3 separate regions of the Homo sapiens genome follow, and all the other regions are linked to region 1. Evidence: promoter capture Hi-C in human tissues and cell types (Jung and others, 2019). All regions are on one chromosome and are shown on one strand. The core of a region is centred on a gene start or on the middle of the fragment in contact, and the rest is flanking DNA. Distances in the headings are between cores, read along the strand shown.

Region 1 (4,177 bases), core at 877-3,376:
CTCCTCCTCTTCTGGGAAGATGCACCCCCAGCCTCCACACCAGGTTCTTGGCCACTGGAGAATGATATAGCTGGGGCCCTGGGACCTGGACACCTCACCGTGAAGAAAAGCAGCCTGCTGGGCACACTGGGGGTCAGATGTGTCCCTGGCCACAGGGGATGTCAGGGTCAGCTCTGCTATGGCCAGGGCAGCTATCTTGTCCCAGCTCCCCTGTTCCTCCCATTTGGGGTCCTGAAAAGGGCAATCGTGAACCTGATGGAAGAATGGTGGGGTTCTGGACACAGCGACCCTGGAACAGGGCGCGGGGGAGGACCCTTTCCAGGACCACTCCCATCACATAATGTAGAGGCCACCTATGCTTAGCCCGGCCCTAACCCCAAAGGGGTCAGCCCCACCGGAATCCAGCCTATTGGCTCAGCCTGTCACCACAAAGGCCAGCTTCAGCCCAGATAACTGTTCTGGAAACAGAAAGAGCAGGGACCGCTCAGAAAGGAGATCTCTGTCCCTGTTTGAAAGCCTGGAGTTGAGGGGACAGTGCCCCGCCCCCCGCCCCCCGCAACTTGGGTTGCAGCTGTGGCCTAGTGAGCACGCAGCGCCCCCTGGTGGTCGAGGGGGAATTGCGGGTCCCGGGAAAGGGGGCGGTGTGCCAGCAACAGGGAGCAGGCAGCTCTGCAGCCCTGAACCATCCCTCCCTTGGGTGACTCTTTTGGAAATCATTGTTCCCCAGACAGGAGGTTCCTGAGGTTCATACTTGGGTCTCCAAGTCTTGGGTGCTCTGAAGACAGGATTTTAAATCCCCACTCCTACTATTGGTATGTGTTGCATCAGGGTGGCTTGAGCTGGCCTGGTACACAGTGGGCACTCACGTTTGCTGCCTGTTTGAGACCAAGTGCCTCAGGAGGTCTTGGAGGGTTGGCTGGGGCCCCAAGTCCCTGACCTCTGATTCCAGAGGCCAAGTTTAGCTGGGGAAGAAAGGGCAGAGGCAGTTTCCCTATGGACAGCTAGGCCCGGGTGTAGGATTCAGTTTCTGTTTCCTGACACCAAGGCTTCTCCCCAACTTCCCCATTGGGCTAGAGAAGGAAGAACACAGGGTGACATGGCCAGCTGGAGGTTACTGGCCCACAGATAGGGAGTCAGGGTACGGATGGGCAATTCCTGGAGCAGATTATGGTCAAAATAGTGGAAATCCCCAATCACAGGCCAAATGTTTAATTCTCAGAGCCATAGAATCCATAACTAATGCTTATTGGCTTTGACATGGGCAGTAGAAATTTCACACTTCATTCCTTAATCTGGCTCTAAATGCTTCTGGCTGGAGTGCTCACTCTCCAAACTGTGCTGGACAGCACCAGAAGCCCTCCTGTGGACGGACGAAGTGGTGATGGATGAAGTGGAATTGTGCTGGGGTTAGAGTAAGGAGAGATTATCGTTGGGCTGGGCTGGGGCTGAGGTCAGGGTGATGATCAGGTTGGAATTCTGGAAGCAAATTAAGGCTGGGATTGGGGTGGACATTGAGGTTGAGTGATGGGTGGGGGTAAGGGTGAAGGTTGGAGTTGGGTGCAGGTGATGGTTAAGATACGGTGGAGGCTGGGTTGAGATGAGGATGATAGAGTCGGAGTTGTGGTTAGGGTTGGGATGATGGATGGTTGGGATTAGATGAGATGAGTAAATGGTTAGGGTTGGGGTGCAAGTGAGGTGAGGGTGAGATAAGGTTGGAATAGGGGCTGGGGCTGGGGCTGAGGTAGGGTCAGAGCAGGGTGATGGTCGGGACTGGGATTGGGATGCAGGTTGGAAGGATTTGGGGGTGGTGGAAGGGTTTCAGTTGAGTCCATCTTTGATTAGTGTCTTGGACTTGGGTTGGTTTGGGGTCCACCACTCGCACCCAGATGGAGCCCCCCCCCGACCCCTGCCCCTATCCCGCTCAGCCAGTTTCAGCCCAGCCCCGCTCCTAATGCTCCACTCACCCTCTGGGCCCAGGGACCAGGGACAGGGGTACCTGCTCCACAGAAGGAAGTGGCTGCGGCGGTGCTGGACCTGCGGAGAGGAGAACAGGAAGGACGGCCAAGAGCTCCTGGTGCAGCTGGCTCCCCAGGGCTCTGCCGGCTCAAGAGAGAAGGATCCCGTATCAGGGGCTGCTTCCTCTTTCCCAAAGCCTCAGCTCTACTGTCCAACCCAGAGGCTGGTCAGGGAGGCAGCTGCAGGCCTTGCGCAATGCCAAAACGGGAAAGACCTCCATAGGGGAAGGCCCTCGGCAAGGCCAGGGACTTAGGGACTCCAGCAAGCAGAAGTGGGACCGCTGCAACGCTGGAGCCTCCCCAGGCAAAGTGAGAAATGGAGTGGGGGACTCCCATTCACCAGCCAAATCCACACCCCACTCTCTCTGAGCCCCTTAGGGAGGCTGGGGGAGGTGGAAGGGGGCTTCCTGCACACAGCTCTCCTCCCTGACACCTGAGAGGGAGGCGCGCCCAGCCTGGGGTGGGGATGCACTACACGATGCCCAGACCAAGGCAGTTATTCTCCAAGCCATTCAGGAGCCTCCCTGTACCACTGAGTACTCTTAAGAACCCCCAAGAGGCAGTCCCGTGTTGTGGGGGACATAAGGCCCCAATGTCCAGGACACTCCTCAGGTTTTCTCTTTCCCCTCTCACTGTCCTGTACGTTTTTTGGTTTTTGGCTTCTTGTTGTTGGTTTTTTTCTTTTTGTTTTGTTTTTGCTTTTGAGATGGAGTCTCACTCTGTCGTCCAGGCTGGAGTGCGGTGGCACAATCTCAGCTCACGGCAACCTCCACCTCCCGAGTTCAAGTGATCATCTTGCCTCAGCCTCTCGAGTAGCTGGGATTACAGGCATGCACCACCACATCCGGCTAATTTTTGTATTTTTGGTAGAGACGGGGTTTCACCATGTTGTCCAGGTTGGTCTTGAACTCCTGACCCCAAGTAATCTGCCTGCCTCGGCCTCCCAAAGTTCTGGGATTACAGAGGTGAGCCGCTGCACCCGGCCACTATCCTATACCTTCACCCCCACCTTGGGACAGGAAAGGAAAGCCCCCACCACAGCTAGTTACTGTTACATTACTGCAGCCCATCTTATTGAGGGCCTAGTTTGTGCAGGCACTTGACATGTGAAGCAGATGTTAATTGCTCCAAGCAATCCCAGATACAAGCAACAAGACTTTTTTTGGTTTTTGTTTGTTTGTTTGTTTTTGTTTTTTGAGACAGTGTCTTGCTCTGTCGCCCAGGCTGGGGTGTCCTGGTGCAATCTTGGCTCACTTTGGCTCACTGCAGCTTCGAAATTCTAGGCTTAAGCAATCCTCCTGCTTCAGCCTCCTAAGAAGCCGGGATTACAGGCGCTTGCCACTATGCACGGCTAATTTTTTAAGTTATTTTGTAGAGACGGAGTCTCCCTATGTTCCCAGGCTGGTCTCAAACACCTGGGCTCAAGTGACTCTCCCACCTCGACCTCCCAAAGTGCTGGAACTACAGGCGTAAGCCACCACTCCTGGCCATTTTTTTTTTTAATTTCACAACTCAAACTTAATTCAACTCAGTCCCTGCCTACCTGTACTGGTGGGGAGCTGGCCACAGCAAATTAGGCCCCTGTACCCTGAGGGCAAGGCCACGTGTGCAGGTGTAAAAGGATGTGAAACCCTAAATCAGGGTGGATCCAGAATCGCAGGCCATGGTGCCCCAAAGCAGATGTCTGGTGACATTCCACCCTGAAATGCTCAGGCTACAGAGATATTAGGTCTCTATCACTCTGTTCCTCTTTATAGCTCCTGTGTCCACTCCTATGCTTGGGCCATTTCCTCTTTCGGCCAAAACACAAAGGGTTCATCCCATTACTTCCTCCCTCAACAGCTGGTCCGGAGACACCCAGCTCTAGGCCTGTGGGGTTGTGACACATGGGTACCAATCCTTCAGTCCACTGGGACTCTATACATCCACCCCTTGGCTTCATGGTGGGAAAGCATCCCTTGACTTTGACCTTAGTCATATGACTTGCTCTGGCCAATGGATGTGCACGGACATGACACAAACTAAGTCTTGAAACGTACTTAAGCAGTTTGCCTTTCCCCCTGAATTTCTGTCATTGCCATGCAAGGGGCAGGCTCCAACTAACCTGCTGGTCCAAAGAGGATGACGAACACATGCAGATGACCTGAATCAGACCCATGGAT
Region 2 (4,177 bases), core at 515-3,014, 94 kb before region 1:
AAGCTCGGTGTTGGAGGTGTGCCCATGCATTCCTGGGAGCCATGAGAGGGGAGGGGAGTGCCCTGTGTCACCTGAGTCCAAGTTAAGAGAGATCACACCAGAGCTGATTCCTAAGGAGCATGGGGGCGGGGGAAGGGGGTGTTCGTGGTGGGGAAAGGAAATGACCAGCCCTTTCAGGAACTACCAGGAGTTTAGCAGAGCTGGTGACAGTGCTATGAGCAAGAAGGTGGAGAGCTGGGGAGGGCCATTATGAAGAGACTGGAGATTGCAGGCTGTGAACTTGAGTCCTGATGTGACTGGGAATTGTTGAGATGTTTTAGGCCGAAAAGTCACCGACGATCAGTGTTTAGAAAGACCCCACTGGCAGCAGTTGGGAGTGTGGATTGGAAGGAGCCAGGCCTAAGTCCTGGGAGGACTTAGGAGGTCCAGGAGTCCAGGGAGTCCAGGTGGAATTCTTGTGTAGAAACCCAGGGAAGGGGACCATCTGATGACACACATCCCATAGCAACTTCCTTTCCTCCTCTGCACCTCCACAGCAGAGTGTCTGTTTCCACTATACGAAGATTTCTTAATGGCAAGGATCGCATTTTTATCCCTCAGTGTCCTCAGTGTCATGTGCTAATCAGTTGGAGATACTCCCTAAATGTATGCCAGATGAGTATATAGTTGTTAGTATAAGGGCTTTACGGTAGGTATCAGAACTTTTTCTTTTTTACAACTTTTATAACTTTTATAAAGGAGCCGACACCTTTTTCTGATATTGTCAGAACAATTGCTGACCAGTGCTATGGGCTGGCTGAGGTTGGCAACCAAGAATCTGTTATCTCAGTCTACACAGCGTGGAGTTAGAAGATTGGATTGTTGTTGGTTAGAATTTTGTCCAGAGAGTTAGAAGATAGAAGAAAAGGGAGGGCTGAGGACATAAACATCCAAATTTTACAAAGAAGAAAGTTCAGTGCTCCTGTCAATATTGAAATAGTTAAGAGGGAAATGATTGGGTCTGGGGAATGCTTCAAAATAATATGATCATAGGGAAAGTAAGTGTAGTGTGGATGAAACAAGGTTGGCCTTGAGCTGATAATTTACTAAAGCAGGATGATGAGCGTGTGAGGTTCATTATAGTGCTCTTTCTACTTTTTAAAAAGCTTAAGATTTTCCAAAATGAAAAAGAAGCTGAGCATGGTAGCTCATGTCTGTAATCCCAGCACTTTGAGAGCCTGAGACGGAAGGATCACTTGAAGCCAGGAGTTCGAGACCAGCCTGGGCAATATAGTGAGACCCCCATCCCTACTAAAAAAGAAAAAAAATTACACAATGAAAAGAATAATACAGGTGGTAGAAGAAGAAATAAAGGTATGAGTATATGATTTGGCCTCCTACAGACAGCTACAGGAGCATGCCTCTGCTGGGCGGGCCTGGAGCATAGTGCACCCTGGAGCTGAAGTTCTGTTCGCCTTTACAGGAAGTACACAGCATTGTACGGGGGTTTTACCAGTTAACAGTGGACAGTCTCTAGAACACTCAGGGGTCAGGGGCAAAACTCCCTCTCCCTCAAACCAGCCCACCTGTCTTGGTGAGAATGGAAAACGGAGCTTCCCAGCAAGCCTCCTGCCTTCACCCCGACGCACAGGTGCATCAGGGTCTGAGGGCTCCTCCCTGTGGGGCCTGGGAAGCCGCCCTTCAGTGGGCTATGGCTGCATTGTCTTCTGATCTTGTAGCTGTGTGTGGGTAACAGGCACATCGTCTCCCCATATCCCAGAGAGTCATGTCCACTTCCTATCTGTGGTGGCATCTTTCCATCACTGTCACCCTCAGGATAATGGCACAGGAACTAACAGAGGCACTAAGAGCAGTGATATATACTGGAGGGAGGGGCGGGGCTGATGACCAAAATCACCTTCTGTTTCAGTAAGAGGTTGGTTAAAGTGATGCCTAAAATGGATAGATCAGGAAATAACAATAAAAACATTAATGATAAAAAGGCAACTGCCAGAAGAACTGAAAAGTAACCTAGTTCAAGGTGGGGGTCCCTGGAGAGAAGCCTTCAGAAGAGCAGAGGAAGAGCAGGGAACATTGCTTTTCATGACTAGCCTTTCAGTACCTTTTGATATTTCAGCTAAGTATGTAGTTCTCTAATGATTTCTAAATTGTTAATGAGTGTGATAGAATAGGAATTCTGGAGAATGGTCAAAAGGAATTGCTAGGAGAAAATTAGGGAAAGAAAGCACAGAGCAGTATTGAGGTGGGAGGTTGGGAGCAGACAGATGGTGAGTGTTCGTTTGCATGGCAGGAATGAGTGGCTGAATGGCATTAACTGGCCATGGGGCTCTGACCAGAGCTTGGGTATACAGTTTCTGTGCCAGCACAAACCAGCATTAGGTGCGTGGTGTGTGAGGCCGGGTGATGGTCATATGGATCTGGTCCAGAGCTGTGGTCTTGACATAGAGTTCCATGTATGAACTTTGGTGGTGGTGGTGGTTTTGTTTCGTTTTTTAAGAAAAAAGGAAGAGTTGTTTTATGTCACAGCCAAACTCAAGGAGGTGACAGCACAAGACCCAGGTTAGAATGTACTTAGCCAGGGCTCACGGAATCTTCCATCCTTTGCAAAGCCAAGAAGAGTAGAGGCCTCAAGGAGAATAGAGGAGCACATGGGCTCCTTCTGGGCTGAGCTCTCACCCTTGGTGGGGCCGCTGGTCCCAGGGGGTCGTTGGGAGCCTGCGGAGATTCTGCCCAGTACATACATACCTTGCGTTTTCTCGGAGCCTGACAGGTGCTGCCTTGAAGCGGAAAGACTTCACCTCACAGGGTGGCCAGCTGTCCTTTCTCTTCCTCTCCCTGTCTTGTGTGCTCATGATAATGGATAGATAGACATCTCCATGGTAGAAATAATGCAGCCCTTTCTGCAGTCCATGGTTCCACAGCATATGGTCAGTAGACTTAGATGAGTGCTACATAAAGTGTAATTAGTTCTGCACCACGGTGTCTTACCTTCTGAAAAGGAAACTCTGGTATTGACTTAGAAATGCCAGTTTTATCCTTCCGACCAGAACGCAAGTCCTGAATGAGGCCAGAGGCCAATGAAAGGTCCTTTCTTCTCTCTTTTCAAATCTGCTGTATTAAACAGTGACTTTTCCTAGTCATTCAGTATTCATTCATTCATCCATTTATTCAAGTTTTTGAGTACCTTCTTTGTGGATGGCACATAGTAGATGCAAAAATACAATCATTTTTAAAATGGAAAGCATTTGTTATGTGGTAGTGGAATATAAGAAATGCCATGCTTCCATATTTTTATGGTAATCTTGGACTCAGGTTCTACCCACCATACTTAATTAGAAATTCATTCTCAGCCTCTGTTTTGGCAGAGACCCATTCTCTTCCCTCAGGAACATACAGAAACCTCAGGGCTGAACTGAGCTCAGAGGTTGGGGAAGGTCCCCTGGTCTGATCTTCAGTCGCTGACTGCTGCGCCCGATTCCCTGGCCCCTCACTCTTGAGGGCAGCATCCTCACTCTTGTGTGGCACAGGCTTGGACATAGAATGACACTTAAGCACCAGAGCCTCCCTAGCCTGCCACAAGGACACCCTACATTCCCAGGCACTTTCAGAATGCAAAACCTCCCCTCCATTCCCTCCCTTTCCCTGCCTCCAGGTTTGGGCCCTGCCTCTCCTTTTGTTTCAAAGCACTGTCCTCTCTTCCTCTACCCTTATCCTTCCCCATCTCCCTCCCACTCCCCAAAAGAGCCAAACTAATTATGGGGATTTAACCTTCCAATTAAAGGCGAGGATTTTTTTTTTTCAATGCAGTTCCTGAAATGCTAAAGAAATTGTCCAGGGAAAGGAGCACAGGAGGAGTTTTGTTTTGTTTTGTTTTGTTTTGTTTTGTTTTGTTTTGTTTTGAGACAGTCTCGCTCTGTCACCCAGGCTGGAGTGCAGTGGTGCGATCTTGGCTTACCGCAACCTCTCCACCTCCTGGGTTTGAGCAATTCTTGTGCCTCAGCCCCCCAAGTAGCTGGGATCACAGGTGCACACCACCACGCCAGCTAATTTTTGTATTTTTAGTAGAAATGGGGTTTTGCCATGTTGGCCAGGCTGGTTTCGACCTCCTGGCCTCAAGTGATCCACCCACCTCAGCCTCCCAAAGTACTGGGATTAGGCGTGAGCCACTGCATCCAGC
Region 3 (4,177 bases), core at 890-3,389, 75 kb before region 1:
GATACAGTGGATTTTGAGGACTCGGGGGAAAGAGTGGGAGGGGGATGAGGGATAAAATACTATACATCGGGTACAGTGTACACTGCTCGGGTGATAGGTGCACCAGAATCTCAGAAATCACCATGAAAGAACTTATTCATGTAACCAAACACCACCTGTTCCCCCAAAAACCTATTGAAATAATAAATAAATAAATAAATAAATAAATAAATATTTTAAAAATAACCACCATTAAAATAATTACAACATAAAAACTTTGTGTATTGCAACTTTCACTTGCATCATTACTTTGCCTTTCATTTAGTCATGCCTGTGGCATTGTTGGCATTGTTGCTAATGGAAATGCTCACGTGTATATAAGATCTAGACAAAGAAGCTGTCTGGGGTTTTTTTGGATCTACTCATGCCTTTTTCTATATAAAAATGTATTTATAGATAAGATTTAGAACAGAAGGGAAGTATGTAAAATCACAACTCACAAGCACTCAGCACTGTTGATAGGATATTCATGTCTGAATAGGGTTAAGACAGGCTCCAGGATATGGGCCTCTTGTTGTGGGCCACAGTACCACCTTTTCTGACCCACATAAAGATGATGTTATCATAGAGGGAATGTTGCACACTCTTTATTATTATTTTTTAAATAAGTGGATAACATATTCAAAGGGTTTTTTAGATAACTGTATTACTGATATACTTTAAAAGCCTAATGAATTACGTGATGTTCTGAAAAAAATTATATTTTCAATTTAATTTAAATGTATATTTATTCACAATGGAGTAAGAAAGAAGTAAGAAGCCACAGTAAACCAGTTATCAAGAAAGGAGTTGAAAACTTTTGAGTGCTACTCTCTCCAAGAAGGACATTAGACCCAGGGAGTTTCAAGGTTGAGATGAGCTTATGGAGATTATGATAGCCTGTTCCTCCCTGAGTGCTTATGAGAATTAATTGTTTCTAAAATCTGTAAAGCAAAGGAACAGATGGAAAGCTTGAAAGAGTCCGAATTGATTTTATACACAGAAATCTTGGTACCAAAACCTGACAAAGGTAGCACCAAAATACAAAGGGCAGCTGCATAGTGAATGTATGTGCAGCAGTCTAATTGCAGTGTAATGAAAGAGTCACTTAATACCAGAAAACCTATTAGAATATATCATGTCAAAAAAAGAATATATCATGTCAATGGGGAAAAAATAACACCTGAATTCTTCCTAGTGGCCCAGAAATCATTTCGTCATTTATTGAAACTCAATATCCATTCCTAATTTGAAAACAAAACTCACAGTAAAATCAAAAATACCTTTTTAACGCTATGAAGAATATCTGGATAACCAGCATCACTCATGATAAAACAAACAAACACCAGAGGTTGTATCCAGGCTAGTTAGTTTTAACAAGAGCTGACATCTGAGCATTTAAAAATTCCAGGCACTGAGTTCTAAGTGGTTTTACGTAGATTAACTAATCCTTATCTCAAACCTATGAAATAGGTATTGTCCCTCGTTATGTTTTATGGATGAGGGGACTGAGGCTCAGAAAGGTGAAGTGACTTACACCACATAGTTAACTAAGAGGCAGACGAGGCTTTAACTAGGGACTTCTGTCTTCACAGCCCAAGTTCGTTATCTTCGTGTAATCCTACAGTCATTCAGCTTTGTGCTAGATGTTCTAGACTGTGCACTAAGTGAAAGGGCACTAAGAAGTGTTGTTACTATTGGAAAGGAAACAAAATTATTATTTTCATATAAAGTTATTAAAACAATGTAGTAGAGATTTGCCTGCATAAAAATGAAGGCTTAAGTATATCAAAAAATAAATGAATAACACAGAAGCTAAACAATCAACTGGAAATTGTTTGCAGTGTGCATGAGAGAAAGTAAGATGCACAGCCTACAGGAAAAAGATTAAAATATATATATGTGTTTAGTATGGAGTTGGTCATCTAATAAACTATGCTTTTACCCGTGTGATTTGGAATTTCTCTGTAACTGTGAAGCTGACCATTCAGAATATATTTCATCATTTTTAAAATGTCAGCCATTATTTATTCCCTCTCAGAATTGTAGAAGCAATGATTTGATGTTATTTTTAAAAACAATAGTAGTAGCGGCTGACGCTGTTTAGTCCTTGCTACACACCAGCCCCGGTTTTAAGTGCTTTTACACATGTTGCCTCCTGAACCCTGTCTTATTGTGACCCCAGCACTTAAGCACAGACCCCAAGGAGCATTGCTGCATATATTAGTCGAGTAAATGGACCTACAGCTTTAAAAAATGTAAGAATGTTGGTATTTTAAGAAAATATTTATAAAAATGCCCTTCTAGAACAGAGCCATATCTATCCAGGCCAAGATTCTGTCTTCTACAGTAGTTCCAAGGAGGCAGTTTGAAGTAAGGCCTACTTGTATCCCAAGGCATAACCTCAAAGCTTCAGCATCATGCCCAGAAAGATCTCTAATATCCTTAATGATATGTGAACGGCCGTTCACCATGTGCTAGGCGCTGTGCTGTAGTATCTCATTTGATCCCAGTGACAACCTTATGGGCTAGGAACACATTTCAGAGGGAGGACACGGATGCCCAGAGACTTCAAACACCTTTCTTAAGGTCACACAGCTGTAGACTATTGGAGCAGGAGTTCACATCAAGCCTCCCTAAATCCCGAGCCCCTGTTTGTCCCTCTACTCTGCAAAATTTCACATTTGTTTGTTTTTAGCTTATACCACCTCTCTGAAGGAAGGGTTCTTTCAGTTCCTATCTGCCGTATAATGAGGCATAGGTTTTTGTTGTCCTGTGAATCCTTGGTGCCAGTTTCAGTAGGAAGAAAGCAAGCCTGACTTTAGTAGTAGAAATACGAGGAGATAGAGCCACACCATTTTATGTATTTGACAAGTCGACGTCATAGCATTAAATCCACAGTACTTTTATTTTTATCTTTATTTTCTTATTTTACTTTAAGTTCTGGGATACATGTACAGAACATGTAGATTTGTTACATAGGTATACATGTGCCGTGGTGGTTTGCCGCACCTATCAGCCTGTTATCTAGGTTTTAAGCCCTGCATGCATTTGGTATTTGTCCTAATGCTCTCCCTCCCCTTGCTCCCCACCCCTGACAGGCCCCAGTGTGTGATGTTCCCTTCCCTGTGTCCATGTGTTCTCATGGTTCAACTCCCACTTAAGAGTGAGGACATGGAGTATTTGGTTTTCTGTTCCTGTGTTGGTTTGCTGAGACTGATGGCTTCCAGCTTCATCCGTGTCCCTGCAAAGGATATGAACTCATTTATTTTATGGCCGCATAGTATTCCATGGTGTATATGTGCCATGTTTTCTTTATCCAGTCTATCATTGATGGGCATTTGGGTTGGTTCTAAGTCTTCGCTACTGTAAATAGTGCTGCAATAAACATCGTACGTTAATATGTATCTCTGACAGGGGCTTTTAAAAAATATAAGGACAATGGTGTTATCACATCCAACAAAATTTAGTAATCCCTAATGTTATCTAATATCAAGTCTAAAAAGTATCATTTTGGACTTGATTTGTTTGAATCAGGGAGGATGAGGTGTTTTTAACATGTAGCATTAACTAATAAAACCCCTTCAGTACTCATTCCATTAATGGCTTTGCCATATTATTTATCAGCAACTTCTTCGAGAGATGCAACAGATGGCCAGCCGTCCCTTTGCCTCTGTAAATGTCGCCTTGGAAACAGATGAGGAGCCTCCTGATCTTATTGGGGGGAGTATAAAGGTGAGAATGTGACTCAGAAGTCCCTATAACTTGACTTTTTAAAACTTAGGCTCCTAAGTCTGGGAAACCAGAGAGAGCAAAAGCCCTATTCCATTACCTCCTTTTTTTCCTCTCTTTCTTTTTAACAATAAGCTAAAACCTGAAGTTGCTGGGTACTCTTTTGCTTTTGTTTTTCAATCTTTGTTTCATGTCGCTGAGCAGTCTTGTGTTCAGGGGATTTTAAAATCTAAATGATTTGTCTGCTTTTCTTTTAAGTATTCTGTGGCATACAAAACTTTTATTTGAAAAGAGCTACATTGAACATCGAATCATTGTTTTTTTGTTTGTTTGTTTGTTTGAGACAGAGTCTTACTGTGTCACACAGGCTGGAGCGCAGTGGCATGATCTCGGCTCACTGCAATCTACCTCCCGGGTTCAAGCGATT

Evidence for each region. The method cuts DNA at HindIII sites, captures the fragments that hold promoters and counts their contacts. A contact is called where the count stands out against the background at its distance.
Region 2: a contact is called between a fragment that was not itself captured here and the fragment with the promoter of SIGLEC1 in region 1, in 2 of the 25 tissues and cell types used here (H1 embryonic stem cells and thymus).
Region 3: a contact is called between a fragment that was not itself captured here and the fragment with the promoter of SIGLEC1 in region 1, in 3 of the 25 tissues and cell types used here (bladder, dorsolateral prefrontal cortex and mesenchymal stem cells).

The regions. Positions count from the first base shown.
Region 1 is chr20:3,710,474-3,714,650 of GRCh38, forward strand. SIGLEC1 (sialic acid binding Ig like lectin 1) reads right to left here and starts at 2,127. Exons shown (of 22, transcript NM_023068.4): 1 at 1,997-2,127. The HindIII fragment of the contact is 16,568 bases long and covers 1-4,177 here.
Region 2 is chr20:3,616,366-3,620,542 of GRCh38, forward strand. The region is part of intron 24 of ATRN (attractin); the gene reads left to right. Among named protein-coding and RNA genes, the nearest start is that of GFRA4, 45 kb to the right of the region's middle. The HindIII fragment of the contact is 5,534 bases long and covers 1-4,177 here.
Region 3 is chr20:3,635,183-3,639,359 of GRCh38, forward strand. It overlaps ATRN (attractin), which reads left to right. Exons shown (of 29, transcript NM_139321.3): 27 at 3,646-3,753. Among named protein-coding and RNA genes, the nearest start is that of GFRA4, 26 kb to the right of the region's middle. The HindIII fragment of the contact is 6,634 bases long and covers 1-4,177 here.